Regions from separate parts of the Homo sapiens genome. Here region 1 is linked to region 2. The links are contacts of gene promoters, found by promoter capture Hi-C in blood cells and fetal thymus (Javierre and others, 2016). All regions are on one chromosome and are shown on one strand. The core of a region is centred on a gene start or on the middle of the fragment in contact, and the rest is flanking DNA. Distances in the headings are between cores, read along the strand shown. Region 1 holds the start of ACVR1C (activin A receptor type 1C). Region 2 holds the start of IFIH1 (interferon induced with helicase C domain 1).

Region 1 (6,108 bases), core at 2,660-5,159, 4.7 Mb before region 2:
GTTTATCTCAAATTCAATCTAACAAGGTATTCTCTGCCTTATTTGCTAAGTCTGTGGCTCTATTTAATGCGTCTTTGAAAAGTTATCAGTAAATGCCCTTGGCTCTCAATTTTTTATCATCAGTCCATATTTATCCCCTGAACTTCAGACCCAGAAAACCAATTGCTTACTTAACATCTCCATTTCAGCATCTGAGAGGCATTTTGAACTCAACATATTCAAAACTGAGCTCCTGTGATCTGTCAGCACCAACCCTTCTCTCCCCAGACCAGCTTTTCCTGCAGTCTGCCCCACCCCAATTAAGGGTCCATTCTTCCATTGCTTGGGTCAAAAATGTAGCATCATCCTTAGCTACTCACTTTCACACCTCAAAGTCCTTTATTTTTTGTATGAGTTTAGCAATTCAGAGGAAATCTCTAAGCATAGTTTCTCCTGGGCCAGAGATGTCTTCCTTGGAACCAGGGAGCCTCTTGCCACATCTGTGTCAATCAACCAATAAATGACTATGCTTAAAGAAGGGCAAAGATGGCAACATCTTTTGCATTTATAAACTCAGTCAGCCCTGAGCTTTCACTTTCACTTCCAGCAACACTGTGGAAAACTCTTAGTGGAAACTGCTAACTATTGTTTGCAGTGGGGGTGAGGGGGTGCAGAGGGGTGCAGGGGGGTGGGGGGAAGAATTTCATTACTTGAAACCCCCACTCTCACCCTGGTTATTAAGGAAATATTTATTCCATTTTTGGAGTAACAACATAGGGCTTTCTGGACTCTTAATAATCCTTTCTGGACCAGAGGACAAAGGAGTTTCAAGAAATTAGAAGAGAATGCACAATATGTAAATCTATGTAACATCCAAATCACAGCTTCAAAGTAGAGAACTCCAGGACATTTTCTGCCACTTCTTTTTTGGGTACACATGGTGAATATTGTGAAGCCATGTCAGGTCTCTCTTATCAAACATCAAGGCATCCAGAACCTACATAACCAGAGCAACTCAGAGGAGCCTGAGTTTTTCGTTGCTCTTGTTTTTAGAGACGGTGCCTCACTGTGTCACCCAGGCTGGAGTGCAGTGGTGTGATCATGGCTCACTGCAATCTTGAACTCCTGGTCTCAAGCAATTCTGTCTCAGCCTCCCAAGTAGCTAGGACTACAGGTGTGTGCCACCAGAACTGGCTAATTGTTTTTAAATTTTTTGTAGAGATGGTGTCTCACTATGTTGCCTGAGCTGGTCTTGAACTTGCTGGCCTCAAGCAATCCTCACACCTCGGCCTCCCAAAGTACTGGGATTAGAGGCGTGAGCCACTGCACCCAGCCAGCCTGATTTTTTTAATTCCAGTCCAGACCAATAAACAGTTTTTCTAAGTCTCTACCAGCTGTTATCTTCTGAGATTCTCAAAAAGGAGCAATGGACACCCCTAAGGTGACAACAATGTGGGGAATGAGCAGCCAAAGTAAAAAAGGTTTACTGGTTTATCATGTGTTCAGATATTTAAAGTCGTAGGCCTGCTCTGCAGATCCAGATGAAAGGTGGTGCCTTCTGTCACACAGTTTCACTGACTATGTCATTACATCAAGAACAACTTCTCATATAACATTCCAACAACAGCAAGTACATGTCATAAATGGCCAATATGATTAACAGTATAATTTGTAAAAGTGACCAGGTAAAAATACAGTTGGCTAACCATGTCATAAAACCAATTGAAAAAGTGAAAAGCAAAACAAAACTACCTTGAATCTTTCTACTAAATAGCCAGAGTTTTATATAAAGTTAAGAATAAATACTATAAGTAGCAATATACATTGTTAACGTGGGACACAGAGGGGTAAAAACTTCTTAAGGAGATTTGAAAATGATTGCACTTGACATAGAAAAGTTTTTCATAAAAGTTCAGCTTCAATAAATACATCTCTACTATATTATTCCATATCATGCATTTTTCTTAGACTTCAAATTTTAAGTGAGCGACTTTGAATGGATTATCTTTTTTTTATTTTTTGCATATTTCAATGTCAAAAGTTTCCATGCCTTTTCAAGAACATGAGGCATGTTGCTATGCTCAAGGTCTCTGAAATTTTCTAAAGATTCTGGGTATACAACAAAATATACCCTTGAAGCTACATTTTAAAAAAATTGAATCTGTTTTGTAGAAATGTGTGCAGCCAAGTTATCAGCTCCTCCAAATAAAAAGAGTTGTACAGACAGCCTCCAGAGGCAGTTTCACCCCATCAAAACTGTGATACCTTGAAGACTTTTTTTTGTAAACTCTATTAAATTGTCAAGAGCACTTTCAGTATCCCAAGTTAGCAGAGTTTTCACCCATTTTTTAAAGACTTTCCCATAGTTGGTTTTCTCCCACTTATAAATTTATTAACTCTAAATGCAAATATTTCACTTTATCCCATCATCTTTCCGACAGTCTTGGGCTGTTTTCCTAAAAGATAACTGGAATGTTTTAATCCTCAGATTTTGTCAATTAATCCTTTTCAATAATCAAATTTATATTTGAATATTGTATTTAGTGATTCTCTCAGGCCATCTGAAACACTGAAATCTGTACATGACAGCAATCATATCATTCAAATCATTCTCTTGCACATGTCACTAAGAGGAAAACGACCCACCATGAATATAGCTATTAATGTCAAACAGATTGTCATCTGGGAAAACAAAATGCATCAAAATCAGCTTCGGACAAAACACAGCTCTATGGGAAAACACCAGATTTTTATGTGCAAATGTCTTCAATGTCTGATAGAAATTTTTAAAGAATGAGTTAGCAAAGAATCTGCTCCTCCTCTGCATAATCCAGGACAATGTAATGAAAATAGTTTTCGAGGTAAAGGGCTTTTAGTCACAGCATATTATGATTTTACCAAAGATGCATTTGCCCCACTTTCTAGTAAACATTATAAAGAAACGTCTGGCTTCTAGATTGGGTAGAGGGCTCTATTTAGCCTATCAAGGCACAGACCTGTTATAAACTCTGGGGCGCTTGCCAGAATTTTTTTCCCCAGGAACTCTGAGTAAAGATCGTACCTCGAAAGCAATGTGCGTTGCAAACCACACAGATTTAAGCTCCCACTCTCGCCTCCATAGCTTGGCATCTGCGGCTTTTGGGGTATTCCCCGCCTCCTAAAACTCAGACTAAATCACCACCTCCCACCACCACCATGCCACCATCCTTGAGCAGCTCTCAGGGGCTTAGCACAGAGCGCGTCCGACGCATACCTGCAGCCCTCCAGGTCCCTGCAGGGTGAACCCAGCTCCCAGCCATGCGCGCACCCACAAACGCTCTCCTATTTTCTCCGCTGCAAACTGCCCACAAATTAGTCACCCACCTCACCCCTACTACTTATTCCCCCACGTCCCTGCTGCCTTTTCCCTCTTCCGGGCGGCTTCGTCCCCAACACACCTGTCTACCCCTACGGCTGCCAGACGTCAGGTGCCCACGCTGCACCCTATCCCGCGCCCCCTCAATCCGACTGGCGCTTCCCTGTCCGCCCCGAAGGTCAGTTTGCTCGGAGCACCCCCTGTCCCCCACCCCCGTGCTCACCCGCAGACCTCCTCCCAGCTCCCACCCTCGCGGGCGTCGGGAGAGAAACCAGCACCGTACCTGGCGAGAGCTCGGCGGCCGCTGCGAGCAGCAGGAGAGCCTGGCGGAGCGCTGAGCAGAGCGCCCGGGTCATCGCCACCAGGCGGCCGCGCCGGGGCTGCGAGGCCCCAGAGCAGAGCGAGGCAGCCGGGGCAGCACGGCCCGCTTTGAAGTTCCCGGGCCGCGGGAGGGGAGCGCGGCACCGACACCCTTTTGAAGTGCGCGGTTGGCTCTAGTCAGTGTGGGCGCCCCCCTCCCCGGCCGCCCCCATCCCACGCCCCCTGCGGCTGGCGGTGCGCGGCGCTCCTGCCACTGGCCCCGCAGCCGGGCGGGGAGCGGGTGGTGGGGCGGGCGGCAGAGCCCGCCCCTGCCGCGCCTCCGCCCCCTGCGCCCTCTCGCAGCCGCCCGGGCCTGCTGCTGCAGGGCAGGCAGGCAAAGGCGGCCCTGTGCCCGGCAGTGAGATCGCCCAGAGCTGGGGCGAAGAAAGAGGGGGCGTGGGGAAGCAGTGCGGAGCCTCCGGGACTAGATACTCAGGAATGGGGCTTCTCACGGGAGGAAAAGCCCCACTGAGACTTTAGGGAAACTTCAACTACGCGGCGATTGCGCCCAGGTGATCCGCTCTATAACCTCCCGCAGAAGAGCCAGCCTCCTAGCTCTCCTGACGTTTGTTGTCCAGGGTCCTTAAGTCCAACCAGGTTGCGCTGTGAGAGCCCCGCGGGCTTCCTACTGGCTTGTCCCACCCCTGCGTCCTGGCCATTTGTGCCTCTGGGGAAGGGCGCCCTCTCTGTTCATCCCTGGAAATGACCAGTTGTCCGACTGCCTTCTGGACCTATAAGCTTTGGTTTAACAAACTTCATCTCTTCTTGGGTGCCTTTTGGGAACCCTTCCCTCTATGAATGGCGACCAAAGCTGGACCACCTGCGCCAGGTGATGTGGCCATCTACAATGTGTGACCCACGTCTGGTGGTAAAAGACCTCACCTATGGAAGATAATTTCGGCAGCTACAACTTCAGCAATTGAAGAACTAAGGGAACATACACACACACACACACACACACACACACACACACACACACACACGGATTAAGGGAAGGGGAAGAATTGTTTAAAGTAGTATATGAAAAACTTGTTTGAGTATTGTTTAATCCCTAGAGGCTAACTGTCAAACGGGTGCCTGAAAATATAAGGCCTGGATTGTGCCTGAAAATATAAGGACAACGGCAACATTACCAATTTATAGAAATTAAATTCAATTCACCTATGGAGCCTGAACATTAAAGTGAATGGGATTATTTCAATCTGAACAACGCGAAAAAGCAAGAATACAATACTGGTGTTATTACTACTGTTGGGGGTTCCTTGAAAAGTGATAGCGTCATAAAAATTGCTTTAGAGTAAAACATTTCTTGCTTCTTCACCTAGCTCAGGACTAAATTATATGCTAGGTGTTCTAAGTTCTATGAAAGACCTATGGTGAAATGTTGTATGTAATTGACTTTATTATCAAAGGATCACAGTATGGGAGATGAGATGGTTGTTGGACTTTGAGATGTGGGTGGCATCCTGAGGATCTTTTCTGCCACCATCTTATATTCCTAAGCACAAAAAAACTTTGTTCTTGTTTTATCCTGGATCCAAACAAACAAAAAACTGGAGATGTGGGACAAATCTGAGCCCTTTCAGACACCCACAAAACAGATGCTTTTTTAAAAAGGCAAGAAACTGCTAGGACACATTATATTTTGTCTGGTTTGGCTTGCTAATTATTTGATAACTGCACCTTAAATTGTGATCTGCCAATAGATCATGATACCGGGAGCCTAAATAGCAGAATGTAATGAACTTTCTGGGTCTGCTTCCTCAAAAGTAAATGGAACTTAATTCCTCCCTATTTCCCAGAACTTTGACCAGGATCAAAAAGGGTAGTGTATGAGAGAGCATTGTTAAACCATACACATTACAACAATGGCAGGGATTTACTCCCCACATACTTATTTTGTCTCTAAAGCAACATCCTCTGCAAGTTGTAAAGCTCTCATTTGCAAAAAAAAAAAAAAAAAAAAAAAAAAGGCCGGTCGCGGTGGCTCACGCCTGTAATCCCAGCACCTTGGGAGGCCGAGACGGGCGGATCACGAGGTCAGGAGATCGAGACCATCCTGGCTAATATGGTGAAACACCGTCTCTACTAAAAATACAAAAAATTAGCCAGGTGTGGTGGCGGGTGCCTGTAGTCCCAGCTACTCGGGAGGCTGAGGCAGGAGAATGACGTGAACCCAGGAGGCAGAGCTTGCAGTGAGCCGAAATGGCGCCACTGCACTCCAGCCTGGGCGACAGAGCAAGACTCCGTCTCCAAAAAAAAAAAAAAAAAAAGCTTATTATTCCAAGAAGTCAAATATTGAATAACTCCAATATTCTACACAAACTCAATGCTTTCCTCTTAGTCTAATGGTGCGTTATCAACACGGTAGCCACTAGCCACATGTGAATATTGAGCCCCTGAAATGTGCCTAG
Region 2 (6,230 bases), core at 1,479-3,978:
GTGAATCAGAGGGAGAATTTGGGTTGTTTTGGCCTTAACTGCTACCAGTACACAAAAGTCCCGTTACTCTATATCTTCTTTGTGTCAAATCCCTTGCATTACTGCTAGCTGCCTCCAAGCTTGCCAGAATCAAGAACTTGGATAAAATCTAGCTGGCGGAAATTCAATCCAGGCAAGACAAAAGTGATGCTGATAGGCAGAAGTATTTAGAGTAAATAGGGAGAAGTGCTGTTTCGCTGGCAATCGGGACATCATACCCACCAAACATAAACAGCTTTGTGGTGTTACTGGACTCTGTTGCTTCTGGACTTCTAACAGCTACTGTGGCTGGAAATGCCATCTTCCATCTCCAGCTGGCTTGAAGGCTGCATACTTTCTTCCAAATTAAGATTCTGCCACAGTGATGTACACATTTGTCATATCCAGCTGGACTACTATAATGCGTTCTAGCTGGTTCTCAATACACAAAACGACATAAACATTACAGACAACAGTGCAAAGTAATTTACTTGTTGGGAAAACTGGCCATCAAAATTAGATGCATGTTTGGGTCTTTGGACAGGCCCTGTGTCTGTCAAGTCTACAAAAGATCACTAACTTTATTCACTAAAGACTAAATTGCATCATAGGCTATAGCAAATCAATCAAATGCCCAGAAGTTTGTATGAATATACAAACAATGGATGACCCAAAAGAGAGAGAGAGAAAAAAACCATGTGAAAATCATAGAGTGGTGTAGACAAAGCCTTTGACTTTTAGTCATGGCTTTATTTGTCTACATGTCTTCCAAAACAAGACTTTTGACTTACGAGCCTGAATAAGTCACATTCAAACAGGTCAGCATTTATACACATCACAGTACATCTTCACTTATCAAAAAATAATTCATATCACATTCAATGTAAAGTCATCAGTAAAATTCGCCCTGTCAAAATGCTACCTTAAGAAAAATGAGTTTCTTCACTAACATGAAAAACTGAAACTAGCAACACATTCTTTCAATGAATTGTTTCTAAATTTTGATTCTCAAAGAATGTTGAAACTTTGATTAAAGAAAAAGGGTGTGTGTGTGTGTGTGTGTGTGTGTGTGTGTGTGATTGCAATTTACCCATTTGGGCTAAGACTAAATGGCACAAAGTGTAATGTAGGGCAAAGATTGGAAAACTTTTTCTCTAAAATGCCAGATAATAAATATTTTTGGCTTTAAGGGCACACAGTCTCCATCCAATTGCCTTTGGAGTAGAAAAGCAGCCACAAGCAATATGTAAACAAACGAGCATGACTGTGTTCCAATAAAACTTTATGAACACTGAAAATTAAAAATTGAAAAATCTGAAGACCATTCTTAGCCTGTGGGCCTGAAAAAAACAGTAGCAGGCTTGATTTAGCCCATGGGCCGTAGTTTACTAACCCCTGCTCCATGGAACTACATTAAATAAGAAAAACATTCAACACTATCACAAGCTAAATTCTTAGCTCTGCCACTGTTTTTCCTGGGAGACCTTGGACAAATTATTTAACCTGCCTCAGGTTTCTCATCTGTAAAATGGAGTTAATAACATTAGGAGCCTCAGTGGGTTACTCTGAACATGAACTGTAGTAATACATTTTGAAAATGATACCAACTGCACATAGTAAGTGTTCAATAAAAGTTACCTGTTAATACACATTACGATTCTAGAGTTAACTCCTTTTTACTTCAGTGAAAACATTAGAAAAGTAGTTCTTTTGTGTTTAAATTTTTAAAATTGTCTTAAAGTGCCTAGATGTTGTCTTCTCAAAGGAAGAAACTAGATTTGCCCAAAGAGGTCAAGCACATTTGGAAAGGGGCAAACGCACAAGGAAGCCTGCTTTGCAAAATCTGCCTAAAAGGCTAGCTCCATCTGAACAGACACCTACCCGGTTTCTGTCTTCAATTGTCAACAGTTCCTCCTCCATGCACTTATCCAAGACGTCTCTAACTAGAAGCTTGTCCACCAGAGTGGGCTGAAGGAGGTTCAGCAGTTGGAGATATTCATCATGAGCGTTCTCAAACGATGGAGAGGGCAAGTCCGTGAGCTCAGGGTTCATGTAGCGGGCGGCCAGAGGGCTGCCGGTTCTCCGGAGGGCCTCCACGAATTCCCGAGTCCAACCAAGGTGCCAGACTCCCTTCTCCAAGGTGCTCAGCAGCAGTTCAACTGCCTGCATGTTCCCGGAGGTGGCGACTGTCCTCTGAATCTGCTCCTTCACCTCTGCAGGCAGAAAGGTCAGGTAGTCCAGCACAGGCTCCACCTGGATGTACATTTTCACCCTGGCCCTGAAGCACGAGATGAGATAGCGGAAATTCTCGTCTGTGGAATACCCATTCGACATCTTTCTTTCTCAGAGAAGGGAGAGGGTTCTCCCAAGCAGATGGTGCTGTTGTCTGCGGGACAGGTGAAATGTGCGTGCCGCTGTCCGCTGCCCACTTAGAGAAGCAGGGTCTACCGCTCTGTGCCTGACAATGACGAGGTTGTCCACAGGGCTCTCAGGCCGGCGCGCGGGGCTGCACTCGCACCTGGGCAGGTGGGCAGGCGGGCAGGTGGGCAGCGGGGCGGCGCGCGGGGCCGCGGCAGGCAGGTGCGGCCGGCAGGCGCGGCACTTTGGACTCTGCGGTGTGCGCCTGGGGTCCCGGACCGGGGCGATCCTGCTGCACACTCGGGTAGGAGCTTTGAGTCCAGCTTTCTGTCAGGCAGTTCTTACAGAGTTTGCCTGACTTTGGTTTCTGTTTCGATTCTCTTCTCAGGACTTTGTAAACGTAATCTGCCTGGCGGGGAGGGAGTTTCCTCAGGGAGACGCCACCTTTTGGTCGGGGCGGGTGAAGAGAGGAGGCCTTTGGTTAAGGACACCGCGGGAAACAGAAAAGGAAAGCGAATTCTCTCTGACACCAAGACCAACGCTCTAGCAAAGCTCCTCCGGCGGATATTTTGTTTTCCCAGCAGGTTCTGCCTTAACAATAAGGTCCTTTGTAGGCCAAAATGTGCAGGGCATAAAAGCATGTGATTTGGGACTTTCCAAAGGGGAAGTGAACAGAAACTGCCACAGACCCGGACGTGAACAGGGAGTTACCCTCGGCTGGTGAATGTAGGCAGGCCTGGCTGAGGGTGGTGAGACTGCGAGGGACAGGTGAGAGATGAAGCTCAGAAGACATCTTTGCAGAGATGTGGAGAAGACAGGAGGAAGTCCTTCCTAAAATAAACCTGACCTCCTGTGGGTTCCCAAACACTAACTTGTTTCCCTGGGAATTTGGAGGTGGGTTCGAAAAAGTGAGTAACAATAAACAGTTAACTTTACTGCCTCATATTTAGATTGCTGGTATTTATGCAGCTTTGACCAGGACCTGGTAACAGATGTGGATGGACTTGAACCACCAACTCAGCTTAGAAGGAAGCCAAGACTTAAAGTTTCCTAGATCCCAGCTTGTAAGTTCCCTATATTCTTTAATATACAACTTTCCTTTAATAAAACAAAACAAAAAAATCCCCCAACAACTTATTTTTGATATAGCTGCCATTCTTTTCTTGGATTCAATACAGCAAGTTTTGGCTGGAGCAGCTAGGAACTTAATTAGCAACTAATGTACCAACTTGTAGTAAACATCAACATTTGTCTATGTCATGAGAGAAAAAAAACATATTCACACTGAAAAATGGCAGCTTCATTTTGGTACAGAAGCCACATAAATGTGAGTCCTTAAGGTTACTACTCATTCTGAAGGCATTCTGTAGCCACATGTGACTGTGGGTGGTAGGCACATACGCACCATAACTAGAATCTCATGGTCCAGAATTATATAAAGGATGGAGAGATCATTTAGGTTATCAAAGAGACATATTTAGGAAAAATAATCTGTTAGCAAAGTACATTCAATAAAGTCTGTGTAGGCCAGGAAAACCTGATAGTGCTTTGAACAGGATAATAGAAGTACAGAGTCTTGGTGAGTGTTTACTAGGGGCATACAAAATATCCAAATGAGCACTTTATGGTAACATGTCTTATTTTATTCTCTAATTATCTTATGTAGCAAGGCTTTTTCTACCCCTGAAGGATTGTAAGCTGCTTGAAGAAGGGATATATTTACATAGTAACTAGTACACTACTCACAACTGGTGGGCTCTTGATGACATCTCTCCTGGGAGTTGTATTTGAGTTGACCATAGCAGCTGGCATAATGTTAAATACACTGAAAGTTGAAGTAAATGAAACCTTGGGCTTGCAGGTAGGCCTGATTTATACTGTTCTTTTCTGTTTCTTCACAGAACCCTACTCCTTTTTCACTTAATTTTGGGAGATGACCTTGTACCCAGATAGAGGATAATCCAATTAGATGTTTCTACAAAAGCACTCAAATTATTAATTTTAAGTATTGGGTCTATGAAAATATCTTTTAAGGCTGTTGCAAAAACATACTCCTATCCCCCAGCTGCCAGTGGGTTTTATTCAACATGTTAAAGCACAAACTAACAAACCAAAAAACATTCTTTTTCCTGGCACTTATCCTTCTGTTTCTTGGTTTCAAACATGGGGGAATGAGAAGGGGTTGCTGACTGAATATGGGGAACCAGTTAATGTTATTTTCTTCATACCACTTAATTGTTGCTCTGGAAGAGAAAGGATCAAATGTTTGGTATTTGACCTGTTCTCAAATAATAAACATTTAAACCAAAGATATTTAAATATTTGGCATTCAAATTATATCATTCATTGTATCATCTAGTCATTTAAAATATGTTTATTAAGTATCTATTACATGACCAGCACTGATCTAGGTGCAGTTAATAAAATTAACAAAGCTCCTACTTTTATGGAGTTCACATTCTAATGGGAGTGGGAAGATAGATGGTAAGTAATGACTAAAAAATATGCAATGTGCAGGTGAGGATAAATGCCCTGAAGACCATAGTAAATCTACATAATAATGTATATTACAGTTTCACAGGTTGATTTCCCAAATAGTCATCCTCCTCTAACCCTATTAGCATCACATAATACCCAACAATAACAATTCATATTTTCTCACAAGTAGGAGTCTCTCTGCTGGATGAGGTCTGAGTGATGAGGATTAGGTGTGGGTGGAAGGGACTTCTTTTTTAGGAATCTCCCATAGTCTTGATGGGACCCTTTTTGGAGAAAGGAGGTTAAGGAAACAAAAGCCAAGACACAATCTCTCACAATGTATCCTTTTTTCATCTATATTTTTTGCATCATGATTTAGTTTATTTTCTGTTTTTCACTTGAGTAATTAATTGTTTTCCTCTGTCAAGTTTCTTCTACTAGGTTTCATTTTAATCCTTTTCACCAGTTCCCAAATGTAAGTTTCTTTTTCCTTTCTCTTTTGAGGCAGGAGATCCTGCTGAACTATGTATTTTCCCATTGTTATGCAACTTTTCATTTGAGTTTTTAAGAAGTAGTAACAATATGAGCTGCCACTACAATTTAACGACCATGCATAGCAATAATGTCTTTTTCAAAGAAAATGACAATAATTTTAGTTTAGTGAGAAACCCTGGAATTGTTGTTCTGTTCCTTTACTTGTTTGCTCATTTGTATCAATAATGAGCCTGCTTTGTGTAATTTAAAGTGTTAGATGCTCTTAACCTGGCAGTGTGGGGTATGGTTAAGCACAGAGACTCTGAGTTCAGGCTGTCTGAGTTCACATCTCAATACTATTTCTTAATTGCTGTGCTTTGAAAAATCACCTCAAATACATCAGTTGTAAAATGGAAAGATTCTGGTATCATGTCAGAAGTTTGTTCTAAGGATAGACTGTAACACACTAGCACCAGCCTGGCATGTTTATGTGCCCAATATGTGACTCCAGCCCACTACGCTTATATAAAAATTAAAGAAGAGATGGTGCGGTGCTAGTCTTCAAAGAATGCACAATTTATAAAGGAAAAATTTAGTTACATATATATATATATATATATATATATATATATATATATATATATATATATACACACATACATATAAACACTATATAATAGCTAGCCATTTAACTGAGACTTTAAGCAAGACTTTCAGCCATTTAACTGAAACTGATAGGCTGATTTAGCAGGAAAGTTTATTAAAAGGATACTGTCGTAGCTTTTTATTTCAAAAATAGTAGTAAGCCTAAAATAGAAAAAAAATTATGGCTAAGTTCACTAAATCTTGATAATAATTTCCTAATCACTTTCACCAATTCAATTAAAATTCTGGTTTTTAAG

The links. The method cuts DNA at HindIII sites, captures the fragments that hold promoters and counts their contacts. A CHiCAGO score of 5 or more calls a contact.
Region 1: the fragment with the promoter of ACVR1C here is called in contact with the fragment with the promoter of IFIH1 in region 2 in 1 of 17 cell types (non-activated CD4 T cells); the score reaches 6.0 in non-activated CD4 T cells.

Annotation. Positions count from the first base shown.
Region 1 is chr2:157,624,955-157,631,062 of GRCh38, forward strand. It overlaps ACVR1C (activin A receptor type 1C), which reads right to left and starts at 3,910. Exons shown (of 9, transcript NM_145259.3): 1 at 3,618-3,910. The coding sequence starts at 3,690. RefSeq lists a silencer at 3,625-3,854. The HindIII fragment of the contact is 11,498 bases long and covers 1-4,430 here.
Region 2 is chr2:162,315,956-162,322,185 of GRCh38, forward strand. IFIH1 (interferon induced with helicase C domain 1) reads right to left here and starts at 2,729. Exons shown (of 16, transcript NM_022168.4): 1 at 1,900-2,729. The coding sequence starts at 2,352. It also overlaps a transcript of GCA not described here. RefSeq lists a silencer at 2,524-2,613 and enhancers at 2,644-3,193, 2,762-3,961. The HindIII fragment of the contact is 6,386 bases long and covers 1,967-6,230 here.